Regions from separate parts of the Homo sapiens genome. Here all the other regions are linked to region 2. The links are contacts of gene promoters, found by promoter capture Hi-C in blood cells and fetal thymus (Javierre and others, 2016). All regions are on one chromosome and are shown on one strand. The core of a region is centred on a gene start or on the middle of the fragment in contact, and the rest is flanking DNA. Distances in the headings are between cores, read along the strand shown.

The links. The method cuts DNA at HindIII sites, captures the fragments that hold promoters and counts their contacts. A CHiCAGO score of 5 or more calls a contact.
Region 1: a fragment that was not itself captured here is called in contact with the fragment with the promoter of CEBPG in region 2 in 1 of 17 cell types (fetal thymus); the score reaches 5.0 in fetal thymus.
Region 3: a fragment that was not itself captured here is called in contact with the fragment with the promoter of CEBPG in region 2 in 2 of 17 cell types (M0 macrophages and total B cells); the score reaches 6.5 in M0 macrophages.

The regions. Positions count from the first base shown.
Region 1 is chr19:32,584,551-32,587,304 of GRCh38, forward strand. PDCD5 (programmed cell death 5) reads left to right here. Exons shown (of 6, transcript NM_004708.4): 3 at 400-461; 4 at 1,266-1,357; 5 at 2,308-2,379; 6 at 2,703-2,754. The coding sequence ends at 2,750. Among named protein-coding and RNA genes, the nearest start is that of PDCD5, 4.7 kb to the left of the region's middle. The HindIII fragment of the contact is 197 bases long and covers 1,164-1,360 here.
Region 2 is chr19:33,372,349-33,375,048 of GRCh38, forward strand. It overlaps CEBPG (CCAAT enhancer binding protein gamma), which reads left to right and starts at 1,361. Exons shown (of 2, transcript NM_001806.4): 1 at 1,361-1,547. RefSeq lists a silencer at 1,148-1,957. The HindIII fragment of the contact is 8,186 bases long and covers 1-2,700 here.
Region 3 is chr19:34,135,309-34,138,008 of GRCh38, forward strand. No RefSeq gene overlaps it. Among named protein-coding and RNA genes, the nearest start is that of LSM14A, 36 kb to the right of the region's middle. The HindIII fragment of the contact is 808 bases long and covers 904-1,711 here.

The sequences.
Region 1 (2,754 bases), core at 12-2,511, 790 kb before region 2:
GGATCTCAGCTTTATCTCTAAGAAAATGATATAGATTAGTCACATGGTCCTTCTAATTGCCTGAAATCCCACTATAAATTTCTAGCACCTGTCACGCAATAGGTACTTAAGAAATGTTGGTGATGGTGTTTGAACTGAGGCTCCACTCTGATGAAACTGTAAAGCTCACCTTCCAGCCTGGTAGGTTGTCACCTGTGTAATATAAAGCTGGTTCTTTGAGGGCAAAAGGGGATTCTACTTGAATGTAGCTGCAGCCTTATGTACAGCAACTACCATAATGCAGTTTGTATACCGCAGGCCCCATGTGGAGACACATACTGGATGGGTTCTTTCTCGTATGTTACATGGGAATGCCGACAGCTGTGTTTTAATTGTGTTTGACCTATGTTTTCGTTGTAGGGAAGCAGAAATGAGAAACAGTATCTTAGCCCAAGTTCTGGATCAGTCGGCCCGGGCCAGGTGTAAGCATCTTTGATTTCATTTCCATAAAGTTAGCTTGAGTTAGTTGAATGGGGTGATTAGATACCATTATTGCTATCACTAGATGAAATATTTGCTTAGGCTGAAAACACTTGAGATGTGTAAGAAGTGTGAAGTTTATAAACCTAGAGAACTGTACTTTAATCCCTAGTAAAAGTACCAGGTCACTTCTCTTACCAAGATGTTCTCCAGGTGTGTATTAGGTAAGATTTATAGGAAACAACTCATAGGGCCAATCACAAAATGTTGCTGGTAGTTGACATTTTGTGTCAACTGGTGATGGGGACTGGGGATGGGGGACTTAGGGGCTTTTTATATGTATTGTCAGTTTTAGTGTATGTTCAGAGTTGTTCATCATAAAAACCAAAACCTGTAGAAAGAAAAAATGAGACAGTCAGAATGAACTGGTATTTTCTGTATTTTAACTGGAAGCCCAGTTTGAGTGTAGAAAAGGCGGCCACAGGTGGATCACCACCATTATGTGTAATAGATAAACCGCTTTCCAGAGGGCAGTCATATATTTTAAGAAACAGGAAGCATGGTGCTTAGAATCTGAGAACCCAACTTTAATCTTGGCTGGGCCACTACCCCCATGTGCCCATGTGGAGATTGGCATGGGTGAACTTCAGTTTTCTCATTTTTAAGAGGAGTAACAATACTGTCTTGCCCTACACTGAGGGACAAGCTTGTGAAGTGCTTTGGAAAGGTCAATGCATAGTTTTAAGGTATAACATAAGTGCATTTGATTTTAATGGATTTTTTGCATATGTATTTTTTCTTTTTAGTAAGTAACTTAGCACTTGTAAAGCCTGAAAAAACTAAAGCAGTAGAGAATTACCTTATACAGATGGCAAGATATGGACAACTAAGTGAGAAGGTAAGCTTAGACAGCCTTGAGGAACTTTACTGTTACCTGCTTTATCAAAACATGGCTTCAAAAGGTCAGCTGCATCTTCACTGGATTACAGAATTCTTGCTGACTCTCAGAAGAAATTGTTGGAGAGAATAGTCATACCTACTTTAAAAGAGAATAAATTGCCTTTCCTAAATTCCTCTGCTTCGCTCCTTTCCTGGCGTTGCTCTGGAACCTTGTTGGTGTCTGTGACCCAATGACTGTTAGGGTCAGCTAGCTTCAATTGCCCCTGCACTGGAAGCAAGGTTTGTCAGTAACACCAATTAAAATACTACCAGTGTAAGTAGAAGGTGTGTTTTGCAGATGAGAAGGTGCTAAGATGCCTTGCTTATGTTCTCTGTGTTGCTGTAATACCATGAGGGGTATGTTGTGGCAAACCTGGCCTTTGAGATCAAGACGAACCCCACCTGCCCTGAGAAGCCGTCTGCTACCACCACAGCCTACCCGAATTGGTCCTGTCCCCTAAACCCCTCACACTGAGAACTGCTTGTGTGGGAGAGAGCTGGTTGGGTTGATCTTTTCCGAGTGTGACTTACCTCCTTCAAGGGGATGTTTAAGCTTCTCGGGCAGAAGTGGTGTGTCTATTCCTGACACCAAACACCGTGGTATATGTGGTTGTCACACTCAGCTAGTGATGATAAAGGTGTTCTTAAATATGTTAGCTTTCAGTTTTCCTGAGGAAGCAATTTTATGGATACTTCCCCCTCCTTCTCAAGTGAGGAATAGCAGAGCAAATTTTATTTGGAACTTAAACCAATAGTTATAACCAATAGTTTCAACCTCCTGCCTCACCACTGCTTCCTTCCTGAGCTCTTTCCCCACACCTCAAAAAGAGTACAAAGTGATTCCATCTGCAGAGGTAAATTCTTTGTTTAAAAAAGTACTGTTTTTCTTATCTTTTCTGGTTCTCCTAGGTATCAGAACAAGGTTTAATAGAAATCCTTAAAAAAGTAAGCCAACAAACAGAAAAGACAACAACAGTGAAAGTAAGTGTCCCCAGATGCTTGTGGCAAATGAAAAGATGGATACTTTAAAGATTAATGTTGAGTATACATCTACCACACATATTTTTCAGCCCAGAGACATTTTCCTTTTGTCAAACACGTGAAAGTTTGGGGAGAAAGGCTGAATCTGTTGGGGGAGGGTTCTAATTTTTATAGGCTCTTGACTCCATTCCCACCCTTTTAGTTCACGCTAAGTTGCTTTAAAGACACAAATGTCTTGCTAAAATTGGTAGAAATCTTTTCTCGGAAAATCTGAGTTATGCTTTATTAGAAATGTTCTGACACTCATTTAATTTTCCTCCCAGTTCAACAGAAGAAAAGTAATGGACTCTGATGAAGATGACGATTATTGAACTA
Region 2 (2,700 bases), core at 111-2,610:
CACCGCGCCCAGCCCATTGTTCACCGTTGTGACCCCTTTTAATTTTTATTTATTGCTTTATCATCTTACTGATTCCTCGAAACAATCTTACGGGGCGAGCCGGTTCCATGGGCGCTGAAGAAACATTTCCTCTTTCAAAGCCTCAATTGTTTGAACGATACGCGTTGCTAAAGAGGAAGCAATTAAACCTATCAGGCGAGTTCTGCCCTCCGCCCAGCGAGCTGCTGCTTCCTGGTGTTAAAACGCTTTCGGGGCCAGGCGCGGTGGCTCACGCCTGTAATCCCAGCACTTTGGGAGGCCGAGGCGGGCGGATCACGAGGTCAGAAGATCGAGACCATCCCGGCTAAAACGGTGAAACCCCGTCTCTACTAAAAAAATACAAAAAATTAGCCGGGCGTAGTGGCGGGCGCCTGTAGTCCCAGCTACTTGGGAGGCTGAGGCAGGAGAATGGCGTGAACCCGGGAGGCGGAGCTTGCAGTGAGCCGAGATTGCGCCACTGCACTCCAGCCTGGGCGACAGAGCGAGACTCCGTCTCAAAAAAAAAAAAAAAAAAAACGCTTTCGGGTTCTCCTGGCGAGTTTTAAGTCACACTGGATCGCTGCTTATTTTCAGAGATCACCTCGCACCCATGCACCTGGAAGGCACCCAAAGAGAATCATTTTAAGAAATTCACTTCATCTCACCCTAACAACAAAGCACAGCCTGCAGCACATGGATTTCACCCATGTGACATCAATGCTAATCCTATGTGTGAAACATCTGGGTTCATTCGATTTTTTAAAAATTAGTAACTGAGATGGGGTCTCGCTATGTTGTCCAGGCTGGTTCTCCAACGCCTGGGCTCAAGCCATTCTCCCGCCTCGGCCTCCCTCGGCGCTGAGATTATAGGCGGGAGCCACCGCGTCAGCCTCCACTCTTTTTGCGGCGACAAAGCCCGCCCGCCTGCGGGGCGTTCCGTTCGCAGAAACTCTGTGAGGGACGCCGCGGGGGCTTCCAAGGGACGCGGCGAAACCAAAACAGTCGCCGGTGGTTCACAAAACCACCTCAGAAAATGCTTCCAAAGGCACGTCTGGCCTCCACAAGGTGACGGCTTTTCAGCCTCCGACTCGAACTTGAGTCGTCCACAGCACTAGGCCGCCGCCAGCCCGGGCGAGCTGCCTAGGGACCGCGGACGCCGCAGCAAGCAGCTCCCTGCTCCCGCCACACCCGCCGAGCCAGCCGCGCGGAACCCACTCCCCCACCGTGGGCCCGCCTCCCGCCGCCAGCCTGCCCACGATTGGTCGACTGGGCTGCCCGTCGCGAGAGAAGGCGGTGCCTCCGGCAGGCCGGCGCTCCCATTGGCCGGGATGGCGGCGGCGGCGCGCGCGGCCCCGGCGAGCAGGGGAAGCCGGTGGCCGCGGCTGCGGAACGGGCGGAGGCTGCCGGTTTCGTAACCGTCGCTCCTCCTCGCTGACTCGCGGGCTGTGAGGCCTGGGTCGGCTCGGGCCGCACCGCGCGGGGCCGCTCGGAGTGGAGGCCGCCTGGGGGCAGGCGGGCTAGAGGAGCAGGTAAGGAGGCTGCGGCGGGCGCCCTGAGAACGGGGAGGAGGAGGCCGCGGCGACGCCGGCCGCTCGACTGGGTGCGGGCCCGGCTCGGGGAAACCCAGCCCCGGCCCCAGACGGCCCGCTGGCCCGGGAAGGCCACGCGAGGCTGGAGGCGCGGGCGGCGGCGCCGCGCGGCGTCTGATGCAACCTGCCGGCAACACCCGGCGGGGACGCTGAGCTCATTCCTGGCCGCGGCCCAGCGCTGCGGCGCCGCCCGTCGACCCCCGCGCTGCCCGGGGCGCCCCTCGCGGCGGGCCGGGAGCGCGCGAACGGCCGGGGAATGCCCCCTGCGGAGCCCGGCCCCCTCTCGGTGAAACGGGCGCTGTGACCCGCCAGGCTCGCATTGGCCCCTGGGGATGAAGGGTGTTCCCAGAATAGCAGAAGGTGGACCGAGTCGAGCTTTAGAATCCTGATCTTCTAGAAGGGCTCAGCTTGCGGTGATCGAAAATCTGTTCAGAAGTTCAAAGACTGATCAATAAAATAGGGAAAGCAACTGGTTTTTAAATGCATGACTTTGCAGAGATAATATTTTGCTTCTTTGTGGAGCTGTTGGAATGTCCTGCACTTTACTGTTGAACGTAGTTTAGAAGAACACGCAACACCTACGGGTCGAATAGAGAAGAAATGAAGCACTTCGCAGGCATAGTTGGAGGGAGCGGAGCAGGGCCGACAGCCAGCGGAGGTGACCAGATGCGAAGGATGGAAATGCATGTGTCGCGGGGGGAGGAGAGTGTTTTCCAGGGCAGCTGGTGTGTTGCTTCTCTTCCGCAGGTTTACGTGTTGGGTTTTCCTCTTGTTTGAAGTTTATACTGTAATCTGGCATCCTGAAATGTATAAGATTTAGAAAGGTCTCAATGTTGATGGGTGACACCAAAATTGGTAGTTGTGTCAGAATTGACTGCTTATATGAATAGGTTGTCACTTAAGGCAGACTTCTCCCAAAGAAATGTGACTCCCAGAGAAAATTTTAAAAGAAAATCCTATAAGGGCTTGCTTTACGAAGACATTCTACACCTAGAAGCTCTTGATATTTAAGATGTGGTCATCTGTTAGCCCTTGAGTAGTATTTGGGATAAGCTGTTCATAAGGTCGATTCTGCTTCTGGAAAAAGTTGCTG
Region 3 (2,700 bases), core at 58-2,557, 760 kb after region 2:
AAAAGATCTCCCACCTCGGCCTCCAAAAGTGCTGGGATTACCGGCGTGAGCCACCGCATCCGGCCTGTTCACTATTTCTTTTTTCTTGACTTTCTTCTTTTTTTTTTTTTTTCGGAGGCAGAGTCTCACTCTGTCGCCCAAGCTGTAATGCAGTGGCGCAATCTCGGCACACTGCAACCTCTGCCTCCCGGATTCGAGTGATCGCCTCAGCTGGGATTACAGGTGCCTGCCACCACGCCTGGCTAATTTTTGTACTTTTAATAGAAACAGAGTTTTGCCATAATGGCCAGACTGGGCTTGAACTCCCGACCTCAAGTGATTCACCCTCCTCGGCCTCCGTAAGTGCTGGGATTACAGGTGTGAGCCACTGCGCCTGGCCTGTACACTATTTCTTAATCCCTGCCAGGGCGGTGTTATCTTTGCAGCTGAGAGTTCTAAGTGACTTGACAAAGGACACTAGCGCAACTTTAATAGCAAAGCCTGGGCCATTTCCACCACCACATGTGTGGCCTGTGTTCTTTCCCACACCTTTTAAAATTTTAAACAGCCTTATTGAAGTGCTGGTGTAAAGCCTGTACATATTTAAAGCATACAGTTTGCCTTTTACATATGTGTGTATACATCCCTGAAACCACCACCACAATCAAGAGAATGAACATAAAAGTTTCCTTCTGCTCATTTATAATCCTTCCTCCCAGTCACAGCCTACCGTATCAGTCCCTCAGATAACAGTGAATCTGCTTTTGGTCACCGTGGATTAGTTTGCGTCCTGTAGAATTATATGTTAAGGAATCATATACTATCTGCTTTTTCTCAGGGTAGAGGACAGTTACTGAGGCCAAGGGGTCACTTCATGATGAGCATAGAGGCCAATACTATGGCATGAGATTTTGAGAAAAGGAAAGCTTTATTGCCAGTTGACCAGCAAGGAGACAGGAGGCCAGATCAAGTCTATCTCCCCATGCTGGCCTTAAGGCAGTACATTTATTAGGAAGGTTTAGGGGATGAGTTAGGGATCAACAGGTAGAAAGAAAGGGGAGGTCTGGAAAGTCCTTGGGCATGCACAGTTGTCTCTTGATGGGTTGCATGTGCAAATCCAGGATGCGAGAGTGAATATGGAACATGCTGCGGAAGTTCAGACTGTGATGTCAGCAGCCTCTTTCTGCACAGACTCCAGTTGGCCATGTTGGTTCCAACTGATTTCAGCCAGTTTCGTTCTCTTATAATTAAAGGGAGTTTCTGCAAAATGTTTCTTGTCTTATCTGCCATCATGTAAGCTCAAGAATTCCTGGCGGGGTGTGGTGGCTCACGCCTGTAATCCCAGCACTTTGGGAGGCCGAGGTGGCTGGATCACCTGAGGTCAGGAGTTCGAGACCAGCTGACCAACATGGTGAAATCCCGTCTCTACTAACACCACAAAAATTAGCTGGGCATAGTGGCAGACGCCTATAATCCCAGCTGCTCCGGAGGCTGAGGCAGGAGAATCGCTTGAACCCGGGACAAGGTTGCAGTGAGCTGAGATCACACCACCGCACTCCAGCCTGGGGGACAGAGCAAAATTTTATCTCAAAAAAAAAGAATTCCTGTTAGTCACCTGTTTAACCCTTTGGGGTACGATTTCACTTCTTAGCTCTGTGCTTGCAAAATAATTAGACATCCTGTTATCAAGAAAGTATGGCCAGATAAAACTGGTCTGGAAGTTACACAGTCAAGCTTAACTATTTTGAAATTCACCCATGTTGCTGAATAGATCAGTAGTTCATTTCTTGTCATTGCTGAGTAGAATTCCATTGTATTGATATACTGCAATTTTTTAAATCCATTCCTCCATTGTTCACTTTTCAGTTTCTGGCTATAACAAACAAAACTTCTATCAACATGGGTGTGCAAGTCTTTGTATGAATGTACCCTTTTATTTGGATTAATAGCAGTGAAATGGTTGTGTCAAACAGTGGGTGTATGTTCAACTTTTTAAGAAACTGCCAAACTTTTTCAGATGAGATCAGGTGTGTTTAGGGTGATATGGCCATAGACCCAAACTATTTTTCAAAGTGGTTGTTCCAGACCAGGCATGGTGGCTCATGCCTGTAATCCCAGCACCTTGGGAGGCTGAGGTAGGCGGATCACCTGAGGTCAGGAGTTCAAGACCAGCCGGGCAAACAGGGCAAAACCCTGTCTCTACTAAAAGTACAAAAATTAGCCAGGCATGATGGCGGGTGCCTGTAATCCCAGCTACTTGGGAGACTGAGGCAGGAGAACCAGGAGGAGGAGGTTGCAGTGAGCTGAGAGTACACCACTGCACTCCAGCCTGGGTGACAGAGTGAGACTCATCTCAAAAAAAAGAGAAAAACACAAAGTGGTTATTCCATTTCACATTCCCACCAGAAGTGAATGAGAGTTCTAGATCCATATGTCCAACACTTGTTAGACATTCTAAAAGTATGTAGTGGTATCTTGCTGTAGGTTTAATTTTTATTTATCTAATGACATTAAGCATCCTTGGCTGGGTATGGTGGCACACGCTTGTAATCCCAGTACTTTGGGAGGCCAAGGCAGGAGGATTGCTTGAGTTCAGAAGTTCAAGACCAGCCTGGGCAACATGGCAAAGCCCCTTCTCTATTTTTTTTAATTTTTAATATAAAAAAATTTATACCCAGCACTTTGGGATGCCAAAGTGGGCAGACGGTTTGAGCTCAGGAG